Regions from separate parts of the Homo sapiens genome. Here region 1 is linked to region 2. The links are contacts of gene promoters, found by promoter capture Hi-C in blood cells and fetal thymus (Javierre and others, 2016). All regions are on one chromosome and are shown on one strand. The core of a region is centred on a gene start or on the middle of the fragment in contact, and the rest is flanking DNA. Distances in the headings are between cores, read along the strand shown. Region 1 overlaps NFXL1 (nuclear transcription factor, X-box binding like 1). Region 2 holds the start of BEND4 (BEN domain containing 4).

Region 1 (4,547 bases), core at 852-3,351, 5.8 Mb after region 2:
GTAGGATACTTCGAAGAAAATTATTATTAGTCAAACAGATTCATTCAGCTAGAAATAATTACTGCTAACATTCTGGACAATCTCCAAATTTATATATATATATTTTTTTCATACTTTTAAAAAATGAGGTCATACTATAATAACTGAAATGTAACTTTATAGTCTTTTCTATAAGCATATTTATAGCTATACATTACACCATGTAGACTTACGTACTTAAATTTCTTGTTGGATGATTATTTCCAAGTATAAATAACACTACAAAAGAATCTTTAAACATAAATATGTACATATATCTCTACACAGCCCTTTTGTTATATAAAACCTATTAGTCTAACACCTAACTAATGCTAAATTCTAAAAATTAGGTAATCAAAAAACAAGAATATACATAATTTAAAAGCTTAAGAAATAATACTAAATTAATTTTTAAAACCTGCCAAACACTTTGATAAAACTGATAAAAATCAGTTCCCCTTTCCTTATAACATTTTACAACTGTTTGATAAAATCAGACATGTAGCATATCGCATGAGCTAACAACAGCATTAAACAGCCGACTTCTTAGTTTGGGTTACCCCCAAAGCGGTATCTAAGAACTTGGATGCAGGAGTAAGGGGACTAGACAGGGAAAAAGAAATAACCAATGAATGGCATATGGTTGAGCTGATTACCACTAAGGGCCACAGAAGCTCAATCCTCCAGGGGACCCTCTGTAAAACCATGTAAAACACGCCTTGGACTGCCCAGCCCCACTCGCTAATGGAAAGGAGGTTGGGGCATTCACCTACCAACTCCCTGTGGTGCAATGTTGCTGCAAGGGGCTTTAACTCCCCAGTGCTTCTGCACTATACCCATGTACTAGCTAAGTCAATTTCCAAGAACAAAATTGAGAGGCGGAAAAAACGCACACACACAGCAAATGTTTAAAGTGGGTTTCTATCTGCATGCAGAGACTATGCATTCCCTGCAGCTGAAATCAGAGTAAACCAACTAGATGTGACTCTAGGCACAAAAGGCATCTGTATCTGCTATACTCTTCTACCCAACCAGAGCATGTTAAATTTCTGATTCACTCTACATGACCAAACTATTTCATCTGACTTGATTTGCTTTCTCTAGGCAATGCTGCTATAATAGCAGTGAATTAATCTAAGGTCTAAATGTTGAGTCTTTCACATTCAGTAATCACTTCTTAATTGCTTCATTAATGCCCTTTTAAATTTACACATATATATCTTTATCACTACGCCATATCTCCTCCAAGGACATGAGTTTTGTCTGAATCTCTCTCCCGACTGACCCTCACCACTTCCCAAAATGCCTTTAACACAGGATACGCTAACTAATTAAGCCATAAGTGTTACTGCCAAGTTCTACTTTCTTGAAGATAGGGACCGTATCTTTTTCCAAAAGTAATAAAATATAGTACATTTAACATTTCACTTTTGTGGGAATCTCTAAAGTACAGATGCTAAAAATGTTCTATCAAATCAACATTTGCATTAAAACTGAAGACAACTAAGTTATATCAATAGTGCTAAAAATACTGGATACTCATTTAGTGGTAATTTTTTTTTAATTACAGATTTTAAAATGAAGATCAATTCATATACAAAATTCTCAAATGAAGCATTTTTAAACATAAGTAAACAAAAGAATAATAAATCGTTAAGTATTGTAAGGCAAACTAAGGTATTTTGGGGAGATACATTAATATAAATAAGGAGAAAAACTTACTGCTTGGTTTCTCTTCACCGAAGCAATACAAATTAGGCATGTCATAGCCCCTGCTTGAAAAGCTTCATTTACATATTGTTTTGTTCGCTCTAATTCACGTGTATCTCCATCTGGAAATTTAAAGATTGAAAATCTCACCCTAAACAACATCTGAAAATAACACAAACTCACTAATAGCACCATATTATGTAAGAACTGTCTAGCAATATCAATTGCTCAAAATATAGCTGTAAAACAAGAAGTTTTTTTTAAAAAAGTAACCAATGAGCTGTCAAGAGGTAACGAAGTCTGTGTATTAAATCTTGTGTACTTTGTTCAAAATCAGTACCTCAGCTCTCTCTCTCAGTTATACTTGCTTTTTTGGCTGTTAGAATTCTCAACAAATTTGGCAGAAGCAGAGCCATAAGCAACAGCAGCAAGATGTAAAGTCTTAAGGAAAAGCAAAGTGTGAAAGGAAAAGCCTAAACTAATTAGTAGAGCCACTGAGCATAAATATAAGCATAGATGTGAGTGAGTGGGGGTGGGGGTGGGTGTGTGTGTATGAATTTAGCAGGTGTATTCTTAATAAAAAGTTGTTGAATGAAAAGACCCTGAGGTTTTTACAGTACAATAGCCACATCTCATGAAATCATGTTCACTATTTCTGCTTAAGAAGGTAGCATAAGCTTTTTAGAAAAAACAGTACCTGACATTATTTTCTTTCAGTAATTATTGAGTGCTTATTTGCTAGACACCGTACTATTAGTACTTCAATAGGATTAAATGAGCTATTATCTTCATTTTACAGATGAGAAAACTGAGGCACAAAAGAATTAACTTCAGTTTGCCTACAAAGTGAACCCTCTTAACCTCTATGCTGCACTGCAGTGAGCAGTTACTGCAGGAAGGTCCAACAAATAACAAGCAACAGCAAAATGAAAAACAGAATGAGTCCTCTAAAGCACAAATGACACCAAAAGGACAATAATCTGAGTCACTTTAGTATGAGAGAAATAAGCCTACATGCCTTTAAAACAATAAAGATTGTTCAATAGTGGTTAACTGAGTCTTCAAAAAAAGTAGATTAAAACGTAAACTACCATAAGTACAGAACTTACCATGGCAATAACGTGGTTCAAGCCAAAATTTAAGTTGCCAAAAAGAAAAATTAAATAAATAGGACATGTGGCTAATTCTTTACTTTCTAAAATCATCTGAGTAAACACGGCACTTACAAAAGCTTGCCCTACCATAAAATAAATATGATTTAGAACATTAAGCAAAATAAACGCAAACATACTCTCAAAACTATAAATTATTATAAAATTATTAAAGACAGTTGCTTTATTTTAAACAAACATTGAAGTTTTTAAAAAAATCCTTAAAAGCAGAATAGTATGGGGCGCCTATTTTGCTTTTCAACAAAGCTGGCATTAACAGATACAAAACATTTTAAATTTCATCTAATTTAACAGCTAACTCAAAAAACAGAATTTAAGAAGAAGATAGAACAGGCTTTTACAAAATAAAAACCAACCTTATATTTTAAAAATTTATGTAAGATTTCTTTGAAACATGTATTAAAGTTTGGCTGCATCAATAAAATGTACTGCCCAGCACATCACAGCGGATAGCATGCTATTTGAAGTCATGCATTTTAAAAAGATGACTCTGGCAACTAAAGAAAAATGAGTATGTGGAGGCCAAGACTGAAAGCTGGAAGTACCAGTTAAGAGACAGTTACAGCAGATTAAGCAAAAAATGACTTTGAGCAAGTTACCTAATGTGTCTCAGTTTTGTCATCTGTAAAACTAGTAGTAACAGTTATCTACCTCACAATTATCATATGGATTTAATCCACATGTTAAGCAGCTGTAAAGGCTTGAAGTAGGCAATGACAGTACACAGGCAGAGTAAGGGTAGATTTAAGAAATTTAGGAAGTAAAACTTAGGAGGACTTGGTGACAATGAGATTGTGTCTGTTTTAAAAGCTGATGTTCATGTCAAGATTCAGAAGGAAAGAGGGCTGTGTCTGCTGAGCTAACATGGGCAGAGGGAGAATTGCAGTAAATGACATGCATATGCCATCTCTGCTCCCAGATGTCTGGCTTGGGAGGGTGACTGAGAAAACTGTAGTGCTATTAAGATTAAGAAAACAAAAGAATAAATAAGTTCTCTTTCAACAGCAGTTTGATGGGTCCACGTGCCAGCAAGATAGAGATACTCATCAGGAAGTTGGCCATGCAAGTTTGAAATTTGAGAGAAGAATCACAAAAATGCAAAGGCTGTGCTCAAATAAAAATGAACTCCTTTGGTAAAGTCCTGGTCTTCAATTCACTAATGTTAAGGTGGGAACCATCCCATTACTCTGGAATGTATGTTCTTAAATCAAGTGATCAGATTTTCTTACATTGGTAGAGGCAAAGGAATGGGAATCATATACTAATGGATTTTATACAAAACACAGCATAAAAAAATTACCATAACACTTTTAAGATTAAAACCAGATTAAAAATTAATAAAACTTACAAATGACAAATGTTTTCTACATACTAGACTGAAAGACATTATTGCATTTTCTATTTTAAAATAAAATGACTCTATCTAGAATGGTTTAAGTGAGTTCCTCTCAAAGCAGAAAACTTCTTAAGATTATTTTCTATAAGGTCCTTCAGAAACAAGAAACCCTCTAACCTTAGAGTTACTTTTTATCAATTCTTACCTTGCCAACCTAGACTTCTCAGCCAAACTTCCTAATCTTAATTCCTTAGCAGATATGGTAAATTCCTTAGAAACCTACTTGATGATGTACAACTATCTTCATGATC
Region 2 (4,174 bases), core at 1,311-3,810:
AGGATGATAAAGCTGAGCCTAGAAATAAACACATGCCTGAACAAGAAGTAGTTTAGGAGAAAATAAGATCTCAAGCCAGAAAGAAAGAAAATGAACCTCCTTAAGAAGGGGGGAAAAAGAAAAAAAGTAAGGAGGAAAATCAAGTGAGCCAACTGCCTAACAAAGAATATAAAAACACAATGGAATATTGGGGCAAGAGCAACTGAAAAAAAACATACCCCACAAACAATAAGGAAGTCCACCTAAGAACCCCACTGAAAGCAATCAAACATCTTCAAATCAGTGAGAGATGCAACAGATCAAGTCTTCACTATAACCTGTAATTAGGTTTTCTTTTCCAAAACCAATCCTTCATGTGTCAAAATATTGACAAACAACAGAATTATTACTGGAGGCATCTATAACTCATTTAGACACAACACTTCTATTTTCCACAGGAGAAAAAAATAAGTCTCAAGATTCACTGACATGCAGGATTTGGGGGGCTTCAAAGTGCCATAAAAGGCCTTGGCAGGAACTTTTAGTTCTAATGAGTGGATAAACGTGGCTGCACCCACTGGGAGCTGGTGGAGAGGTCCCTTGGGCGCAGGCCTCAGGCTGTGGCCTCGCAACCAGCCCATCTCGCTCCCTGCAGGCAGGCAGTGGGCTGCTTTGCCGGGCAGCGCCCGCAGACTCGAGATAAAGGAGAGGAGTCGCGGACCCCAGAGTGGGTGCCTCCCACGAGGCGTTTCTGTAAGGCTCGGGCCGAGATGCTCGGGAGGGGCAGGACCCCGCGGCGCGGCAGCGTGCCACGGACGGGGACGAGGGGATGGCGGGGACGACGACGTGGGCGGTGGGAGCAGAGTGCCTGCGACTCCCGGGGCAGGAAGGAGGGGCGGGATGGTTCCCCGCGCCCGAAATCCACGGCGTGGCGGACGCGGAGGAGCCCCGAGTCTCACAACCAAGGGGTGGGAAGGAAAAGGGACAGAGCGAGACAGAGCGCCCCCGAGAAACACAGGCGCACAAAAAAAGACAGAAGGAAAAACGGAACTGAGAGCCAGCCAGCATGGACTGCGACAGCGTGAGAGTGCATCAAAGAGGTGGCGAAGAAAGCACTAGAAGGCAAAGGAGAAGTGGAGAGAAGAAGAAACAAATGGAGGAAGAAGGAGAAAGGGAAAAAGCAGACGGAAAAAGTGAAGTAGTACGAGGGCGTCCCAGCGGGGCGGCCCGAGAAGCTCCAGCTTCTTCCCGAGCGGCCGCCGCTATCCCCCGGGGGGGCGTCTGGCCCCACTCCGGACCACGCCCGAGCGATCCTGGTCGCCGACTGCCACAGCCGTGCTTCCCGGCGCGGGATCCAAGCCGCGGAGCCACCTGTTAGGCGCGCGCCGTCGGAAGCCCAGGCGCGGCGGCGCTGGAGAATCCTCTCGAAGTTTCCGGGTGCGCGGGGAGGCCCCAGGTGCGCCCCGACATCCCGACACGGCCCAGCACGGGTAAGTGTCGGCGGCCCCCCGCTTCTCCTTCCTGGGTCCCCTCCCGCTGCCCCCGGCCGTGGCGGGAAGGAAAGTTGTGCGGAGAGTTGGTACCTGCGCTGAGCTCCAGGCTGGCGCTGTCGCTACCCGTGCCGCCGGTGCCGGCGGCCGCCGCCGCGCCTGGGCCATACCTGACGACAGCGGCGAACGAAGACGACGAGGAGGCGGCGGGGGACGCGGGCGGCGGCTGCGCCGGAGTCCTCAAGTGGCCCTGGGATGTGGCGGGCGTGCAGGACGGCGACGACGACGAAGCGGCGGCGGCGGCCCGGCCGGGCCCGGGGGGGTAGGAGCTCTGCGCCTGGAACTGCTGCGGCGGCGGCTCGCTGCTGCTGATGGAGACGGCGGCGTGCGGCGCGAAGGGCGGCGGGGGCGGCGGGGGCGCCCGCACGTGCGGCAGCTCCACCAGGGTGGGTCGCTCGTAGCGCTTGGCCAGCGCCGGTCTCTTGCTGGGGAACGTCTTGAGGACGCTGTAGGGGCTGCGCTGCTTGTAGATTTTGGGGACGCTGGGCCCCTCCTCTGCCGGCTGCATCTCTTCCTCCATCCGGCGCCTCGGGGCCGGTCCCTCGGAGCACGTCCCCTCCCCGCCGGGCGCCGGGCTCCGAGGGTGCCTCCGCCGCCTGCCCGCCGGGTCTGCCCTGGTGCGCGCGTGTGGGAGGGTGTGTGTCTGTGCCGTGGCCGCCGCCGCCGCCGCCTGTCGCTGAGGCTGGCATCGCCGAGCCCCCGCGCGGGGGGCTGCCGCCCGAGCTCCTGATTGACAGGCTGCCTCGCCAATGCCTGGAGGGAGAAAGGAGGTAAAGAGCAAGTGTTTAGGGTAATATCTGCTAATGATAATGGGGGCGGGGCGGGGCCTGGCGCCGCAGCCGCCCGCGGGGTCTGCCTGGCGGCTCCGCGCCTCCGACGGGGAGCGGGGGAAGGGGGAAAGCGAGGACCTGGAGGACGCCCGGGAACTGGTGAAGAAGGTGGGGATCCGGGATCTGGCTACGGCGAGACTTTAGAGACCCAGATGTGGACTCGAGGCTTCTGCGGCTGCGGGCGGGGTCCGGCTTCCGAAACGAGCTCGTGGCGCCCCCTGCATGACCCCAAACTCTCGGGGTTGCACAGAGGAGGGGCTAGTCGTTGGGGCGGGGTCGTCAGAGTACGTGTGTATTACAGCAAGTTCTTCTACCAATCGGGAATTGCTCTCCGATCCTTCTGAAAAGAACCTCTTGAAGATCTTGGCCCGGGTGGTCGCGCGGTGTTTACGGGGCTTTGGGGTCCTGCTTTCCCCGAGCATCGCGGCCTCTGAGCTCATGCGGAACATAAAAGCTCGCAAGGCGTAGAACTTTTTCACGTTTTCATTTGTTTCCCGTAGGGGCCCCGAGAACGTGCATGACACCATGATTTCCCCCCCATTATAAAGATGAGAAAACCGAGGCTCTGAGAGGTTGAAGGGAATTGCCCAAAGTCAGACACTCGGGAGTGTGCGGCTGTGTTGCACTGACGCATCCAGGTTATTTGAAGTCAACTCCTCACTTCCCATAGCCAGTAGCCTCTGTGCAATTGAGTGGGGAAATGTCCTGATACCTCCCTTTGAGGTGATGATTACTTTCAACAGTGTCATTTTTAATATATGTATATGTACTTGCAAGCCCAGGGAAACACGAGAACTCACTCCTTGCATTGTTTTACTCACTGCAACTGGCGCCATCCGGCGAGGGTCTGGAGGGTGCCCAATTTCAGTAGCCGTTTGAATGAGAGATCTCAGTCGTTGGGAGGAAGATCCTCCATGGGATGCAGATGTCCTGGTCTCTCCCAGCCACTTTTTGGGGCAGAGGGTCCATTGCTCCCTATCCCAAATCACCCCTCTTCTAGGCCAACCAGCATACCCTGCCCCAGGTTTGCTTTTCAGCCTTCCTTTTTCGTTCTCCAGGTCAGAGTTCTGGATGCTCCTTGATGTAGGACCCTCATCTCTGCACTCTGAAGTTTGTTTCCTTTTCAGAGCCTTCCTTTTATTCTTAGGAAGGTGACCCATTTTCTTCTGGGGGTTCACATCTTTTGGCCTCTCTTTCCCTGGTCTCCTTCCCTTTGGAAGCTTTTTCTCTCTGCCTTGCTGGTTCAGCTTCTGTATTATTCCCCCCTAGATTGTCTCCCTCTCTCCTGCAGCTTCCTCAGATGGTGCTGTGTCCCCCCCCCAATCCATTTATTAGAGATGAAATAAATAATGCCATAAATATAAGTATTTGGGAGTCCAGGAACTGTCAGGGCTGATTAGGGCATAGAGGACATTTTCTTTCTCATTATGCAAAAGCATTTCATGGGGAAATAAAAGAGGTTTCATTGTAACTCATGCATGTCATATTTCAAGGAATTCAAGATATTAATCATATTTAACATTATTTGCAATGTTTCTCCCTGGCTTCTGAAAACTGCTAAATGAGGACACGTGGATCACTAGGAAAAGGAGACAAGCATGAGAGGGACAGTTAAGAAATAATGAAATGCTGGTGAAAGAGAAAGAGAATGAGATGCCAGGGAGATGTTTCTTAGGCACGTAAGTGAGAAATGGGGGAGCTACTTCTGAGACGTGAGACAGCTGAAATTGAATGATATACTGGAGGAAATAAATGATAACAAACCTCCCCACACTTTCCTTTCTATAAAGCAGTTCTGAATTTTGCATTGAAATG

What was found. The method cuts DNA at HindIII sites, captures the fragments that hold promoters and counts their contacts. A CHiCAGO score of 5 or more calls a contact.
Region 1: a contact is called between a fragment that was not itself captured here and the fragment with the promoter of BEND4 in region 2, in 1 of 17 cell types (total B cells). The highest score is 5.5, in total B cells.

Annotation. Positions count from the first base shown.
Region 1 is chr4:47,903,497-47,908,043 of GRCh38, forward strand. NFXL1 (nuclear transcription factor, X-box binding like 1) reads right to left here. Exons shown (of 23, transcript NM_001278624.2): 4 at 1,741-1,850. Among named protein-coding and RNA genes, the nearest start is that of NFXL1, 8.8 kb to the right of the region's middle. The HindIII fragment of the contact is 603 bases long and covers 1,801-2,403 here.
Region 2 is chr4:42,150,095-42,154,268 of GRCh38, forward strand. BEND4 (BEN domain containing 4) reads right to left here and starts at 2,561. Exons shown (of 6, transcript NM_207406.4): 1 at 2,438-2,561; 2 at 1,563-2,282. The coding sequence starts at 2,049. RefSeq lists an enhancer at 1,035-1,878 and silencers at 1,644-1,733, 1,934-2,253. The HindIII fragment of the contact is 4,164 bases long and covers 1-3,577 here.